3 separate regions of the Homo sapiens genome follow, and all the other regions are linked to region 1. The links are contacts of gene promoters, found by promoter capture Hi-C in blood cells and fetal thymus (Javierre and others, 2016). All regions are on one chromosome and are shown on one strand. Each heading gives the region's core, a stretch centred on a gene start or on the middle of the fragment in contact. The rest is flanking DNA. Distances are from core to core; before and after follow the strand shown.

What was found. The method cuts DNA at HindIII sites, captures the fragments that hold promoters and counts their contacts. A CHiCAGO score of 5 or more calls a contact.
Region 2: the fragment with the promoter of VSIG8 here is called in contact with a fragment that was not itself captured in region 1 in 2 of 17 cell types (erythroblasts and total B cells); the score reaches 5.8 in erythroblasts.
Region 3: the fragment with the promoter of SLAMF8 here is called in contact with a fragment that was not itself captured in region 1 in 1 of 17 cell types (megakaryocytes); the score reaches 5.5 in megakaryocytes.

Annotation. Positions count from the first base shown.
Region 1 is chr1:159,217,528-159,220,430 of GRCh38, forward strand. No RefSeq gene overlaps it. Among named protein-coding and RNA genes, the nearest start is that of ACKR1, 14 kb to the left of the region's middle. The HindIII fragment of the contact is 3,320 bases long and covers 1-2,903 here.
Region 2 is chr1:159,861,118-159,864,020 of GRCh38, forward strand. It overlaps VSIG8 (V-set and immunoglobulin domain containing 8), which reads right to left and starts at 1,540. Exons shown (of 7, transcript NM_001013661.1): 1 at 1,356-1,540. The coding sequence starts at 1,404. It overlaps LOC107985216 (a long non-coding RNA gene), which reads left to right. Exons shown (of 2, transcript XR_001738263.2): 2 at 1-2,903. RefSeq lists enhancers at 41-955, 956-1,868. The HindIII fragment of the contact is 16,901 bases long and covers 1-2,903 here.
Region 3 is chr1:159,825,341-159,828,243 of GRCh38, forward strand. SLAMF8 (SLAM family member 8) reads left to right here and starts at 1,533. Exons shown (of 5, transcript NM_020125.3): 1 at 1,533-1,598. The coding sequence starts at 1,559. The HindIII fragment of the contact is 24,464 bases long and covers 1-2,903 here.

The DNA of each region.
Region 1 (2,903 bases), core at 126-2,625:
GTGTGACTGCTCTGTGCTCCTGAAGCACACTGGGCGTAATAATGACTATCGTGTATTATTTAACCTCTGTCCTTATGTGTTTGTTGGTCCCGCTAACCGGGTTTCTTAAGGACAAAGGTTGTGGCTTCCTTTTACTTTCCAGAACATAGCCCAGTGCTGGACAGATAGTATGCATTCCAAATGTCTGTTGTGTATGTTAATGTATGTATTGAGGATAGAAGTTAAGTACAAAACCCTTTGGGAGCTAATGGACTCTTTTTACTAAGGAGAAAAATGGGGCTCTCCAATCAGAAGCTATGCAGCTTGTCCAAGTATCAACTGTTAGAAACCAGAAAATTCTGAGATTTGAACCCAGGTCTATGTTCCAGATGAATTTAAGGTCCTTGTTCCCTTTTCTCTTATGTGCTCAGCTGGTGATAAGTCATAACAGCACTGCCCTGTTGCTGCATTTCCCATCATAAACTCAAGACATTCAGATCTAACCTTCCAGGAGGGACCTTAAAGCGAACCAGATTTTGCTTTTGTGTTTCTATTTTATTATTTATTTATTTATTTAGTGTTTTTTTTTTTTGTTTTTTTTTTGAGTATGCAGTCTCACTCTGTCGCCCAGGCTGGAGTACAGTGTCACGATCTCAGCTCACTGCAACTTCCACCTCCGGGGTTTAAGCGATTCTCCTGCCTCAGGCTTCCGAGTAGCTGGGACTACAGGCATACGCCACTATGCCTGGCTAATTTTTGTATTTTTAGTAGAGATGGGGTTTCACCTTGTTAGCCAGGTTGGTCTCAAACTACTGACTTCAGGTGATCTTCTGGCCTTGGCCTCCCAAAGTGCTGGGATTACAGGCGTGAGCCACCGCTCCCGGCCTGCCTGCTTGTTTTACAGATGGTGGCTGAGGCTCAGGGATGTGGAACGTTCCCACATTACTGTAATACTCACAGCAATATGATAATGTTATCATGTTATTACATCATGGTGGGGCCAAAATGGGATGGCAGGCACTGGGCATGAGGCAGGGGACAAGGATGAGACAGGCTGGTTTTTCTACATCAGCCCAGAATAAATCAAAGCAATGTATATTTATTGACCGTGAGCTTATCTGGGTGCCCGAGCCCCCTCCCAAACCCCAGCAATAGGAGAAAGGTGACCAGGAGAACAAAGGCGGATGTTTCTCCAGCTACCCTCTCAGGTTAGAGGGAGAACTGGACGGAATCCATCACTTGGAGACTGCTTCCTTCTGGCCTCACCACAAGGGGCCACATCCAGATGGAGAAAATAGTTAGGAGGGTCGCACATTTGCATACATTTGCATGTGTTTGCATATTCACACAGAACATGCAGCTCATTCTCAGGCAATTTTCAAGTAAATGTGATTATTGCCACCTTCAGGTTGTCAAGGATAGATTTTGCTCTTCTCACTTTCATTCTCACCCACCCACGGTCTCTGGGCCCTGATACAGGACGAGCCAGTGTGTGCGTGTCGGGGAAGGGGATACGTGAAGGCGCAGGAGCACCAGCACCAAGGAGAGGTGGCACCTGGGGCCAGGCACAAGGGCAGCACAGCAGCCTCTCCTTAGGCTGAATCCTCAAAGCACGCCATGCCGGCTGCTAGGTGACATCTGCTGTGTTCCTGCTAACAACTATGCTGATTGGAATGGACATTCTCAGCAAGTTACATGCTTTTTCACTGGTGAGGTGGCAGTGCAAGACAAAAATCTCTTTGGCACATAGGACAGTGGGCAGATGATGAACATTATATGAATATAAGCTGTGAAGTCAAACATCAAGCTCCCAGTCCCTTGAGACTCTTTTCCTCTAGAGTGTATTACCCCCCAATCCGCCTTTTCTTATAGAACCTGCTTTCCCTACTGTTTGGCTCACAGTAGGTGCTTCCCAACAGCCTTTTAATGGTTCAGGGGCTCAAAAGGCCCAGAGGGGAGCCTGTTTGTTCTTGCAGGCTGCCAGACAGTGGGCAGGCACAGCTATGTGCATGGAGAACAGAGGAAATAAAGAACAAGCCTGATCATTGCTGTTCTGCCTGGCGCTGAGAGGAGAGTCTCAGAAGCAACAGGACGTCAGGGTGTTCCTTCTTTGACTTATTAAGTCAGAGAAAAGACTCCCCTGGCTGATGATTCCTGTGAGTTTGAATACTGAGATAGCATATGAGTTAAATGAGAGAACTGTTTTACTAATCATAGATTCAAAATTCTCCTATATGAATTTGCTGACCAACTAATCAACAAATACCTTCTGTGTGCCTCAGCCAAGCTGAGTAGCTGAACTCTAGTAGGCATTCAGTAAACATCTTAATTTTTTTTTATTTATTATATTTTAAGTTTTAGGGTACAATGCAGTGTAGATATTGTACTGTTATTGTGGAATTCAGAAATGAAAAACATACAGACCTTGGTTTCTACGAACTCAGAGTCTATAAAAATTTTAATACTTGAAATATTTTATTAATATTAATAATATAATAGAAGGCATATAACACAGTTGTCTTAGTCTCTTCAGACTGCTATAACAAAATGCCATAGGCCGGGTGGCTTATGAACAACAAACATCCATTTCTCACAGTTCTCCATGCTGGAAAGTCCTAGATCAAAGTGCTGGCAGATTCGGCATCCGGTGAGGTCCAGTTTCCTGGTTCTTAGACAGTTGCCTTCTTTCATGTCCTCATGTGGCAGAAGGGACAAGGGGAGTCTCTGGGGTCTCTTTTATAATGGCACTTAAGCCTTCATGACCTAATCTTGCTCCAAAGGCCCCACCTCCTAACCATTATATTGGGGGTTAGGATTTCAACATATGAATTTTGATGGGACACAAACATTCGCTCTTACAGCAGTCGTTAAAAGTAGAGGCACTGAAGTTAGATATCAAAGTTCAATTCAGCTGTGCAACCTGA
Region 2 (2,903 bases), core at 290-2,789, 640 kb after region 1:
GGAGAGAGGGAAGAAAGGCAAAGTGGAAGAGAGAGCTGGATGGGAGACTTGAGGAGAGACAGGAATGGAGGAATCACATGGGCTCTCCAAGGAAGAGGACAGTGGTGATTCTTTGCCCCCCAAAAGCACCAGAAACTGGCCATGCTTTACGGGGTGTCATCTCAATAGTGGTGCCTACTCTCTGCTTGCAAATTCTTTCTGAATCTTCAAGGTGCTTCCAGAACTCCTGATCTTCCCTCTGGAGGTAAGGGAGGGGAGAAAAGGCGGCTCCAGCTGAGGGTATTGATGCGTTAATGCAGCCAGTGCTGAGTTGTCCTCACACACCCATTGACACACCACACAGGGGGAAGTCCGGGTCCCCACAGCACAGCTGGAGCCTCCCGAGTGGACTCTGCCAGCCCTGCTCTCATCAGACAGAGAAGGGCTGCAGCTATCCTGCCGGAAATGTCATCATTCCCATGCAGGTGCACGCACCCACACACTCACATACACATTCACGCTCACACAAAGGCTGAAAATGTCACCCCGCCTTCCCAAATTCCTCCTTCATGCCCCTTCATCCCAAATCCAGACTGCAAGAGGGACTCGGAGCCCTTTCCAGTGATGTTGGCATAGAATGCCCCTTGGTGGAACTTGCCCCAACCTGGGCAGGAAGCCACAATGTCCAAACTTGAGCCCTGCCCTGTGGACCTGTCCTGGTGGGGTGAGAAGTCTCTGGAGTTGCCATCCCCACCACCCTCAGGCCTCATCCTAGAGTGGGGCACTGCCCTGTCATAGCACAGGGGGCCCAAGGCTGAGGTCTCAGGCCTGAGCTGTCACTGGCCATGATGGAAGAAACCACTCAGACTTACACCAGACTTAGTCTCTTGCCCTTTCAAGGCAAGTGACTTCCCTGCCCCTTGGCCCTGGCCTTGGGAGAGAAGGAGTAGCGTTGGGAATAGCACACAGTCTGATGAAAATTGATCCTTCCCAAGCTCCTCCTGAGCCCTCACCCAATGCCCGTGCTTACCCCTCTCCTACCCCACCTCCAGCTCCTGCAGAGCAATCAATCCCTCTCCTCCTAGTCACGGCATGAGCTTGCAGGGCACCTGCACACATGTGTGAGCCCGACAGGGGACATATAAAGATCCACTCAAAGACCTCTGCACTACAGACACACACCCTGAACATCAGGCACAGGGTCTCCTGGGGAAAGGTCCCCTGGTAATACCCACACCCGGCTGCAGCAGGGCAAGGGTGGGCAGCACCCTGCCAGGCAACTCAGGCAGCCCCAGGCTCCACTGTGAGCCCTTGCTGCCCCTTTCCTTCCCACCTAGCCTCATGCTGGCTACCCTGCCCCCTGCCCAGCCCCGTACCTGGGCTCAGGCACACGAGTAGAAGGTGGAATGCTCCTCCAACTCTCATGTCTCTAGGCTCGGTGTTTCCTCCGTCTGGGCTGGGTATCCCGTGGGGTCGTAGTGGTGGGTGTGAGGGGGTAGGTGGAGGGAGGGGGAGCTGAGGGCCCAGACACTGCCTGGGGTGGCAGGAAGGTGCAATGAGTGCCCAGCTGGGGAGCAGCTGGAGTTATTTCTATGGGAGGGAGGGGGCCTGGTCCCCGCCTTGGGGAGGAGTCCCAGGAACCCTAATTAGCAGGGTGACAGGGTGGCCTACCTGGGCATTACCCAGCCCTCACCCAAGCTCTTCCCTGTCCTAAGAGTGGCACAGGACAGCCAGCGGGACTTGTAATTAGGCACCTGTTAAACTTCACTTCCTCCTGGCCACATCCTCAGGGTGACAACAGTCACCTCATTTACAGCTTCCAAGGGCTCCCCTCACCACTCATTTGCTGCCTCCTTCCCTGGGGGAAGTGGGGAAGAGGAAGGAGAAGCCAGGCTTGGGAGAAAGAGTGGCCAGGACCTGAAGAGTTAATCCTGATCCCAGGGCATAGGGTTCCCCAGGAGTGTCCAGCCCACCTTCCCCCAGGCTTCAGGCCTTTCAAAGGGACTCAGGCCTCCTGAGCTGAAAGAGGAGAGAAGGGGTGTGTGCAGGAACAGAGTCTCCTCCTGGCTGTCCCCTCTGGAACTGTCCTCCACACCCATACTCGACTCAAGGCCATCCCCAAGTGTAGGGGACCCCTGGGAGCAGGGGTGCTATGGGGGGTCCAGGGTGTGTGCTAGGAGTAAGGTGACTGATGGGCTAGTGAGGGAGTGTTGGAGAGAACAGCGCCAAGAGGACCAGGGAAGGGGGTGCCTGTGTAAGCGTGTGCACCCCTCAGCAATGTCTGTGGGAGGGAGGCAGGATGTCTGTGTCAGGGTGTCTCTGTGAGGATGGCTAAGCCCCTCTGAGTGAACTTCTTGAGGGATCGCTTGGTGTCCTGGCTTCTCTGCCCAGAAAGAGTAGCCAGGTCTTGAGGGTTAATGCAGTCCCAGTATTAACTGGGTCCTTGAGACCAAGGACCCTCATAACCTGGACTGGTCATCGGGCTGACTAAACCAGCACAGTTCTGGGTAAGTTCGTGCTGGGGTGGGGAGGGTCCTGGTAGGCATGGGGAGCAAGTGAAGGGCCACCCCTTGTTGGCTTGTCTAAGGGGGACAGAATGGGCATGTGCCTTGTTGGACTCCATGGTGGGAGTCAGGACATGAGTGACCCCATTCAATAGCTCAACTCCCTCAAAGGAGTCAGGGACTGCCCCCATCCCTACCATGGGGCACAGAAAGGGCAGAGGAGGAAGAGTGTTAGGGAGAGTTATGGGGCTCAGGGATGCTGCCAGGGCCCACCCCTCTGGGGAAAAATAAGTCAGAACATTAAGGAAACACAAGGAGTCCACGCGTCTCTGCATTCCAAGCCGTTGCACCTGAACTCCCAACAATAACAGGGCGCTCTGAGACCTACCAGATGTACACAATGAATATCTTTATTTCCTT
Region 3 (2,903 bases), core at 283-2,782, 610 kb after region 1:
CACATCCCTGCACGCTCTGCTCTCCCCTCCTGCCCAGAGCCCACCCCCAACCTCTGGCTCTCTCCTTTCCTCATATTATCTAAACCATGCCCATCTTCAAGGCACAGCTCAAATTCCACCTTCTCAAGAAGCGTCCCCTGCCCAGATCCGCGAAGCCCTCTTTCCCACCCACTTCTGAGGACTGACTACCTGTTTGCACAAAGTGGTGTCTGTCTGCAGATAACCCTTCACTTTCCTTGGTGTACCTATCTCTACATTTTGGTTGTGAGTACCTGGAGGGCAAAAACCTTATCCCAAAATCCTCCTGCTCACCACCCACCCCCACCCCATCCTATATGCCTAGTTCCTGGCTGAGTCCAAAGCTCAGTGTCCAGTTTGATTGACAGGCGAGAGGCTGTGCAGGACCAGATACGATGAGCCACACTCCAGACTAGCAGGAATTTTCCTCAGGGGCAACACGTCCTCTAAAAACCTTCACTGGCAAGAAACCAAGAAACTTGAAGTGAGAAGAGAAACAGGATGAGGAGGGGATAACTGTGGCAAAATAGACCACACTTCAAAGGCTGAGGTTCAAGTTCCAGCTCTGCCTCTCTGTGAGCTCTGCAAGGGGCCTAACCTCACTCTGGTTTTCACATTTTCCCATTTCTAACCAGGTAACAAGATGATCCTCTCAGAGGAGAGTTGCAAGGCTTACATAAAGCCAGATGTGTAGCCATGTCTAGAATGTACTCACTCACTTAACAAATACTCATGAAACATCTGTAATGTGCCAAGCACTGAGGGCAACACAGAAGGGAACAAAAGACTGGCTAAACAGTCTGTGAAAACCAGAAAACTGTCATCAACAACACAGCAAGAGTAAAGAGGGAGGTGTGGGCATGCACAGGACACAAGGAGAGGGCCTCTCACCTGCCTGTGGTCAGGAAGCCTGGAAGGATGTCCTCGCCGACTGCACAGCCATGTTCTGTTTGCAAGGATAGAGGGAGCAGCATGCCTAGTCGGGGTGGTGGGGAAAGTACAACACAGGGAAGTGTGAAATCAGTAGTTCTGAGAAGGAGGCCTTCTGGCTTGGGATGGCTGGAGGGCAGAATGACTGTGGGCGACCAGCCTGGAGAAGAAGGCCTGACTCAGGAGGGCCTGCATGCAGAGCAGAGTTAGTCCTCATCCTCAGGTCCACGGGAGGCCACAGAAGCATTTTAAGCTAGAATGAGGATGACAGATAGTAGTGAGGCAGGCTGAGATGCAGGAAGGCCAGCGAGATCCAGCAAGGAGGATGTGGCTTGTGTGGGGGCTGTTGTCGCCACGTGTTAGCCAACCATGTGCATGTGAAAGAGGCTGACTTACAAGAATCTGCTCCTGTAAGCCCAGAGAGGCCCAGGGACAACTTCCACTTTATTCTGGATGTTTTCACTTTTGGGACATCCTGTTCTGAGTCAAGATTCCTCCTTCTGAACATGGGACTTTCCAGAAGGACCACAGCTCCTCCCGTGCATCCACTCGGCCTGGGAGGTTCTGGATTTTGGCTGTCGAGGGAGTTTGCCTGCCTCTCCAGAGAAAGATGGTCATGAGGCCCCTGTGGAGTCTGCTTCTCTGGGAAGGTAAGTGGGGCAGGCAGATAGCCTGTCCTCGGAGAGCTGAAGGCCCCTCCCCAGCTGCCTATGCCAGACGTCTGGGCAGGGATCCCTCGACCTGGGTGAGAACCCAGAAGCTGAGGGTGGGTAGGAAAGACTAGAACAAGCTCTTGGGCAACATTTTAAGCTAGGCAGATACAAAGAGATGCAGGGTCCTGGGAGGGAGGAGGTGGCAGCTTGAGGGGTATTCTTATCTGTGAGACATGAGCTGTTTTGTGGCCCAGAGCAGTAAAAACGGAGCCAGTGGGTGATACTGCTGGTTTGGAGAGAAAGTCGGCTGTGAGAATGGTGAGGACCCGGCAGTGTTAGCATGCAGAAACTCTGCAGAGTTTGAGGAGAGTAGCAGAGGGCAGGGCAGAGCAGGGTTCCCCACAATCAGCAGAGTGTGTTTTCAACAGCCTGTGGGGGAGCTGAGGTCCCTCCCTACAGGCCTTTATAAGGGGAGGCAAGTACTAAGTAGGGATGAGAGAGGCTAAATGTGGCCCACGTGGACTTAGGGGTGGCCGACGGTGGTGTGATGTTGGGATGGCTGATACACGGGGTCTCCTCCACACCGGGCGATCCCTCTATCCATCTGATGCCTGAGTTCCCTTCCTTGGTCAACAAGCAGCCAACATGACATGGGTCAACACTGCCGGGCCATGGATGAGGGTTTATGGGGTGCAGCAAAGATTAAGATGATATTGTTTACATCAGAGGCTCATAGGGACTTTGGGTTGCTTTGTTTCATCTCCTTGCCTGAGTTCCTGGCCCTGAGAGCTCCAAAGCCTGCAGATTTCTTCAATATTTCTAAACATGTGCAGGAAATCACACCTTAACCTCAAAAAAGGCCTTGGTCTGTTTGGTGAGACAAAAATAATTTGCCTTTTTTTTTTTTCTTTGAGACGGAGTCTTGCTCTGTCACCCAGGCTGGAATGCAATGGTGCATCTCAGCTCACTGTAACCTCTGCCTCCTGGGTTCAAGCGATTCTCCTGTCTCAGCCTCCTGAGTAGCTGGGATTACAGGTCACTGCCACTAAACCCGGCTAATGTTTGTATTTTTAGTAGAGACAGGGTTTCATCATGTTGACCAGGCTGGTCTCAAACTCCTGACCTCAAGTGATCCGCCCTCCTCAGCCTCCCAAAGTGCTGGAATTACAGGCATGAGCCACCACACCCAGCCCAAAAATAATTTTTCAAATGGCCCTTAATGATCAAAGATCTGTGTGACTGACCTGGTACAGACCCCTTATTTTTCAGTGGTACTGAAGCCTGGGGCAGGGTGATGTGTGG